Linked DNA regions of Homo sapiens: region 1 is linked to region 2. Evidence: promoter capture Hi-C in 16 types of primary human blood cells and fetal thymus (Javierre and others, 2016). All regions are on one chromosome and are shown on one strand. Each heading gives the region's core, a stretch centred on a gene start or on the middle of the fragment in contact. The rest is flanking DNA. Distances are from core to core; before and after follow the strand shown. Region 1 overlaps FAM13A (family with sequence similarity 13 member A). Region 2 holds the start of FAM13A-AS1 (FAM13A antisense RNA 1).

Region 1 (3,702 bases), core at 1,188-3,687, 76 kb after region 2:
CACAGGGGAAGGGGCATGTGCAGACACAGTGAAAAGGTAGCCATCTGCATGCCAGTGTGAGAGGCCTCAACAGAAACGGACACTTCTAGCACCTTGACCTTGAACTTACAGCTTCTAGAACTGTCAGAAGATAAATTTTTGTTGTTTAAGCCACCCAGTCGGTGGTATTTTGTTATGGCAGCCCAAGCAGACTAAAGACGACAGCTAAAAACGATTTTTAAAAATAAGAAAGTAAAGTTTATTTTATGATCATTTTGAATAGTGAATGAATGACTAGAAAAAATCCTGTCAAAATAAATATATGAAAATCTGACCATGCTGTTGTGCTCATGGACAAATCCTGTCTCCTCCGAGGGAAGTCTTTGCTTTTACGTGCATCCACGTGTCTCTTCTACTTCACTTTGTTGAACTCTAATTTCGATTACACTATAGATCCATGAGCCTGGATGCGATATCTGTTTTTCATCATTGAATCACCTTATAGTACTGGGTGCTCAATTATCACTGTTGAAGACTTCAGGGGCACTTTATTTAGATACAGCTCTGTATAAAACACATGGTTGTATTTCTTTAAATCTAATCTTAGATGGAGCAGGTGTACTCAATTCCTTCCTGCAATATTCTGTCAGATTTCAATCACATTTGACATAACTTGGATTTCACTGAACTTAGATCTCTGGACCTCTCACTTTCATTATCTAGATTTATTTCCATATTTTTTTCAGGATTTTCTCCTCACCCCTACATACTTACTTAATGTCCTGGCAATGCTGAACTATTTATTATTCCCCAAATATAGCCTGCTTTTCTTTTACTTTGCAGTAGGATTTTAATATAGTCTTTATATAACAAAGAAACATTTGGATCAATTTTCCAGTTCACTGTGTTTTTAGAAGATTGAAAATCATTTTCACTTAAATGATGCTTTGCTTTTAAAAAATATTTCTTATGATTTTTTTCAAACATATACAGAAGTAGAGACACTATCATAACAGACTTCCATATACCCATTACCAAAATTTCACATTTCTGTAAACTTGGCAGATAGTAGATTTTTTTACTAAATGAATTTAGCTGAATATTTTTACATAATGAAGATTTTATTATTACATAATGAAGATTAATTTGCTACAAAATTGTAGCAAATAGTAATATAGGTCTGATTATATTTCCTTATGAATTTAGACAAATAACAAATCATTTGTACCTATGAATGAAGTTATTTGTAGTCTTTGTCTATCTTCGGTACTGCTATTTCAAAAATGGGCCATGACGACTTTAGTATGACTTTACTGACCCTTCTACTCATCTTGAAACATAGTCATCATTGGCTTCTTCAAGAATATTTTTTAATTTGTTGCATCTCTAAGTTACTAGAGGCAAAATAATAGATAATAATATAAATAGATTTCTATGTTTCTAAACACTTTTTAACCACTTCATAAAGCTTATAGTTTTGAATAGAATATTACAGCCTAGCTTAATTTTTCCTTATTTTTTGAGTAAAGACTTGTGAAAAATCTTAAATGAATCAATTGTATAGAAGCATATACTATGACGAACTCTTGACTGTAGGCTATATTAATGATTCTTGATCTTCTTATAATTTATGACATGTTCATGACTCTCCTGGAGATACTGGAGAAGACCTTTATGGCGGCTCATTGAAAGGAAGGTTAAAACAGAAATCTAAGACCAAAGAGGAGATGCTGAAAGAATCAGCCTGCTGGAAAACTATTTCAAGCAAGCAGATGAGCAAAAGGAAAGAGTGGAGCTGGGAAGAAACAAGCGGAATGAGAGCACTGGATCAAAGAAGGTGAGTGAAAGGATAACAGAACCCAGCATGAAGATAAGGGGAGAGGGGTTGCAGGAAATGACTACTGACCTACGGTCAAAGCTGGGCCAGACAAAATTAGTGGATCTGGGGGTTTTGAGAGATAAGGGTCTCACTCTTCCAAAGACCTGGAGAGCTAAGAGAAGCCGTTCAGTGTGGGCTGGGAGTTGAAGGACTATCAAGACACGATTGTATCATAGTGTGCCAGGTTAGGTACTGTTTGTACCCCAAGATTCTCTCACTCAATGCCCAACTGTGATTTGACCAGGAGGAGTGGTGAAGGGAATAGCAAGAGAAGAACAATTAAGGGAAAGGCTAGGGTTTCATGGGTATAGTCTTCATACCATCACTCAGCTACCATTCCCCATCTCCTTTGGTTCTCCTAATACTGCTAGTAAAAAACAATCAAGATAACTTATGCAAGAAATGTCCCTGGGCTTGGGAAGCTCTCTATTTAAATTCTTCAGGAGAGGTGAGGCTGTGTTTCACATTTCCCTGCCCTGTCTGGCCCCTATCTGTTTCTACCTCCACTGTCCTCCCCCAGACCTGCTGCCAAGCATCCACCAACAGCACCATCACTCTCTGTTCTCTCTCATGCTCCCCACCACTTCCCACCTCCACCTGCTAGCCCTCTGTCCAAACAAAGAGGGTGGAAAGCAGGATATCGTGACACACTGAGGATATTTTTAAAATGCAAAATGTTGCTACATACTCCTCAGCAAAAAATGAGGCAGAGGATAAGAACAGTGTTAAATGAATAATTTGTGCTTTCTCTATAACACATTAGAGGTAGTACACAAACTAATTATACTTCTAAACACTTTCTATAAACATGTCAGTAGCTAATTTTAAATGTAAATATCTCATGTCATGCCACAGGAGAAGAAATGTAAATATCTCCTATATTATACTTTTTCTATTTTCTAAATGGAATATTACAACTATTCTATCCACCAGCTCCATGAAAATTTATTTTAAAAGTACTGCACATGCTACTTGTAAATCAGTGGGTTATATTATTGATACTGCTTTATTTCTAAAATTACATTTGCTAATATAGCTCTTAAACATCTCGGTGAGGTATAGCATGAAACTTATTTATACTGTTTATCTTTTATGTTTTTCTTTAAGCGAAAAAAAGTTTTTTTTCTTTTTCCATAAAGGGTTTAATGTAGATTATGAGTCAAAGTGAAAAAGAATGCGAATGAGGGGTGTGGGACTATTATATATTCATAAAGATTAAAAATTAAGAAAAGAAAGAAAAAGAATGAGGGGTGCTAGGGTCTGGTTCAGGTTAGTTTCTGACATTTAATAAGGAGTCATTATTAAACCATAAAGAGGCTAAAGGCCATAGTCAATAAAAATAACCTTGGAACTTTCAGGGAAAATATATGAATATCTGTATAGTCTATTCTCTATATAAATTTATTTTCCTTGACAATTTAAGTCATGATTATTAAATAATATAAATGGTAATTGTTCATCTGTATTTTATTAAATCTTTTCATGGAGAATAAAGCTCTTTGTAACACTATTCTTAAAATTCATACTATGGGAATGCCTTAAAATTAGTGATTATTATAATAAACAACTTAAGCTTTTCATTTTTTGAGTAGATTTAAGCCCAACCTTTCTTATACTAAAACATAATCAAATGTCAGAGTATTATAGGGATATCTGACTATTTAATCACATAAATATAATGGAGAAATCAGCTGCTCCATAAACAAGTCTAAATAGTCAACTTAATGTTGTCTAGCAAGAAAAAAAATACCTCTGGACAAGCATATGGTAACTTTCTCTGCCCATGGTTCAGAATCCCTCTAAATAAGATATTTATGAGGAAGCCATAGGGTGTATTCAATCAG
Region 2 (3,695 bases), core at 322-2,821:
TCATCATGGAGTAAGAAAATTCTACATGATTAAAGAATCCATGTAAGTCTAATTTTAAATTCCTAGTAACTAGAGAAAAGACTTATTTATATAAAATGAAGTATTTATGAACTGTGATAAAGCATCAAATCTTGATGAAGGATTGTAGATTTTTGCTTTTTCTTTTTGTTTTTAAAACTTATTCCAATTGCTAAATTGGTAGTTTTTCAGTCTTTATAAATACAGGATTAAAAATATATATACAGTTATATGAAATGTTTATTTTCTATGTGTGTGCATATAGTTCAATATTATGCAATAAATTTGGTGTTTTAACTTAAAACTATTTCTTATTGTACTTGCAGAATGGATAGCTTGCTTTTAGTAGAAGCATTAGGTCGTATACTCAGATAATCTAATAGAAGGTCAGATTTGATTCCTGCATAAGAAAGTAGAGCCAAGTGCTGCAGAAATGGAGAAGAAAGCAGGGGCAAGGAGCAGATGGCATTAAGGAAGAATGAAGTTTTTGAAGGTTGGGATGGACGAAAAGGTGTTTCTCATGGAGAGGGATGCTTTAGCAAAGGCTCAAACATTGGGGCATATTTAGGCAAGAGCCAAGAACAGTTTGAAGGGAACATCAGAGGAAATAGGCAAATAATAGTAAATAATGGTAAGTAAGACTTGGGAGAAAGAAGGTAGATTTGGGGCTGAGGAACTAGCCTAACACTGGAACTTTAGTAGTAGCCAAGTAGGATTTGTTTCAATGTTCAGAACTTGAGGGTGATAAGACCTGAGCCGGGTCTTAAGAAGGAAAATGTGGATGGTCTAAATCTGGAGGTATTGAGGTGGGAAGGACTGAAGCAGAAAGACAGGAGCTGAGACAGCAGTGACAGTGGCAGCAGCAGAACTAGAGAAGAGTATCTGAGGAGAGGTAGGGGGAGTGAGTGGAGGTGGTAGGAGCCTGCAGGGAGAAGGAGGCACTAAAGGTGGATCAGAGACTGGTTCATTTAGTGATTGGTGATTGTTAGGCCATTTAAGCACACCAAAAGTTTGTGAGACACAGCAAAAAAAAAAAAAAAAGAAAGGATTTTAAGTAAATTGGTAAAGCAAGTAAAATGTATTGTTTTGCCAGATTAAAAAGGTGGTTTAAAGGTGGTAAAGAGAATAGGAGCTTTCCATTAATAAGCTCCATTCAACAAACATTTAATAATCTACATAAGTGCTACATTTGAGGAGTTAAAAACAAACCCCACTACATTTAATTTTGCACAGAAATTGCCAAATTATTTTAACTAACTTTGAGGCCTCAGAATTCTCATCCATGAAATGAGATTGGATCAGATGATTTCTAAGGTTACTTTGAGCTCTAAAATTTTATAATTCCATTACTGAGAGAGTGCCTGAACATAGAGATACCCAATACATATTTCTAAAGATTTGTTGCATGAATGATATCTTATGCTGCTTCTAAAACACTATGATTTTTCTAAGATAGTTTCCTTTTCCCCTTCATTACCAATGCTTTAGAAGACTTAAATCTTCTGCATAGGCATTTCTGGATTTGCCTACCCACCTACCAACCTTCCCTCCCCTGAAAACTTTCAGATGCTTCTTCATTGTTTTAGTCATTTACCACTTTAATGAAATTATCTGGCAACTTTATTGTGGTGGGTGGGGATCAATGACGGTGTAATGAGGCAATTAGCAAATTCTGATAGTTCCATCTACTCCATGTGAAAGTCTCTTGATGTTTTATATGGTACTCTTATTAATAATCCCAGAGAGCAGGGGTTGGCAAACTATGGCCCATGGGCTAAAATGGTTTTTACATTTTAAAAGGGTTGAAAACTTTAAAACTGGAAGGATACATGACAGAGACTGGATGGCCTACAATGCCTAACATATTATCTAGCCCTTTACAGAAAACAACTGACCAATCCTTATGAGACCAGACTTGCAAAAATTACAGTAACAGAGTGAAAAACCTTCTTGAAGTGTTAGGAGGAACTTGAGTCATAATTTGATGTTGAATCAGAGAGAACAACTGTTTGGGCTTATTTGCCTCAGAGGTAAGAAAATCAAGTTTTAACTAAGATTAACCCACAGAAGTAGATATTAATACTAAGGTTTCGACCTAATAATAACTAACCTGTATTAATTGTGTGCAGTGTACCAGACCCATATGAGATCCTGCACCAACATTTGCTATGCACTAACTAGTTTAATTGCCATTACCAGGGTCCTCCTGGCTCTGCTATTTACTAGCTGTTTGACCTTGGGCAGGTTTCTTAACCTATGTCTCATTTTCTTCCTCTTCAAAATGAGAACAGAAATAGTGCCTACCTCATGGAGTTGTTGTGAGGATTAAATGAATTAATGGAAAGCATATAGAATAGCGCTTAGCACATAATAAGCTCTCAGTACTTAGAATTACCATTATCCCAGTTTTTCACATGAAGGAATTAATTAGAGAAAATAGTTGCTCATTATCACAAAATAGTGGGACCTGGACTTGACCATTAATCTGTGTTATGCCCAGCTGCTAGAGATGGGCAACAAATTGGATTAAGGCTGCTCAGTAGCCAAATAAAAAGGAATGTTGTAATGTGGCAGGTAACTTCTTTGACCACATATCTGCAAAGACATCGCACCGAGTTCCACGTATCTGCAAAGACATCGCACTGAGTTCCACGTATCTGCAAAGACATCACACTGAATTTTGTTTTGCTGCCAGTGTGCAATTCAGTAGTGATCAGTGCAGTTCTCATGTCATTTGCAGTGGGTCTCAAGTGAAGCTGGAGGTCTCTGTTGGTAGTTAGTAGCCAGGAACCAGGTATGCTTAATGCCTTGCATTGCATAGAACAATTCCTCTTTATCCTGCCCAAGATGCCAGTGGGCACTGCTATGGTCTGAATGTTTGTTTCCCTCTTAAAATTTATGTGTTGAAACCTAGCCCCCAAGATGATGGTATTAGGAGGTGAGGTCTTTGGGAGGTGATTATATCATAAGGGCAGAACCCTCATGAGTGGTATTAGTTCCCTTATAAAAGAGAACCCAGAGAGGTGCCTTGCCTTCCCTACCATGTGAGGACACAGCAAGAAGGCACAATCTGTGAGAAAGTAGGCCCTCGCCAGACACCACCAGTGCTTTGATCTTGGATTTCCCAGCCTCCAGAACTGTGAAAAATGATTTTCTGTTGTAAATTACCTAGTGTTTGGCATTTTGTTATAGTGGCTTGACTGGACTAAGACAGGCCCCTTTGTAAAACACTGAGAGAGGGATGGACTTCATACCCTTTAGGGGATCCTTCTCTGTAGAATTCTTTTTTTCAGAAGATTTTTTTTTTTCTTTTATTAATAAGCTTTTTATTTTTGAATACTTTTTTATTGGTACATAGTTGTACGTATTATGGGGTACTTGTGGTATTTTGATACAAGCATACAATGAATGCATAATGATTAAATCTGGGTAATTAAGATATCAAAACATCTATCATTTCTTTTTGTTGGTTACATTCCAAATCTTCTAGCTATTTTTAAACATACAATAAATTATTAACTATAGCCACCCTATTGTGCTATCAAACAATAGAGCTTATTCCATTTAACTGTTATTTTTGTACCCATTAACCAACCTCTTTTTATCCCTCTCCTCCTAGTATTTGCCCAGCCTCTGGTAACTATCATTCTATTCTCTACCTCCATGAGAGCAACTTT

What was found. The method cuts DNA at HindIII sites, captures the fragments that hold promoters and counts their contacts. A CHiCAGO score of 5 or more calls a contact.
Region 1: a fragment that was not itself captured here is called in contact with the fragment with the promoter of FAM13A-AS1 in region 2 in 1 of 17 cell types (endothelial precursors); the score reaches 5.5 in endothelial precursors.

What each region holds. Positions count from the first base shown.
Region 1 is chr4:88,783,810-88,787,511 of GRCh38, forward strand. The region is part of intron 10 of FAM13A (family with sequence similarity 13 member A); the gene reads right to left. Among named protein-coding and RNA genes, the nearest start is that of FAM13A-AS1, 76 kb to the left of the region's middle. The HindIII fragment of the contact is 1,984 bases long and covers 1,446-3,429 here.
Region 2 is chr4:88,708,218-88,711,912 of GRCh38, forward strand. It overlaps FAM13A-AS1 (FAM13A antisense RNA 1), which reads left to right and starts at 1,572. Exons shown (of 5, transcript NR_002806.2): 1 at 1,572-2,048; 2 at 3,638-3,695. HERC3 (HECT and RLD domain containing E3 ubiquitin protein ligase 3) reads left to right here. Exons shown (of 26, transcript NM_014606.3): 26 at 1-322. The HindIII fragment of the contact is 7,507 bases long and covers 1-3,338 here.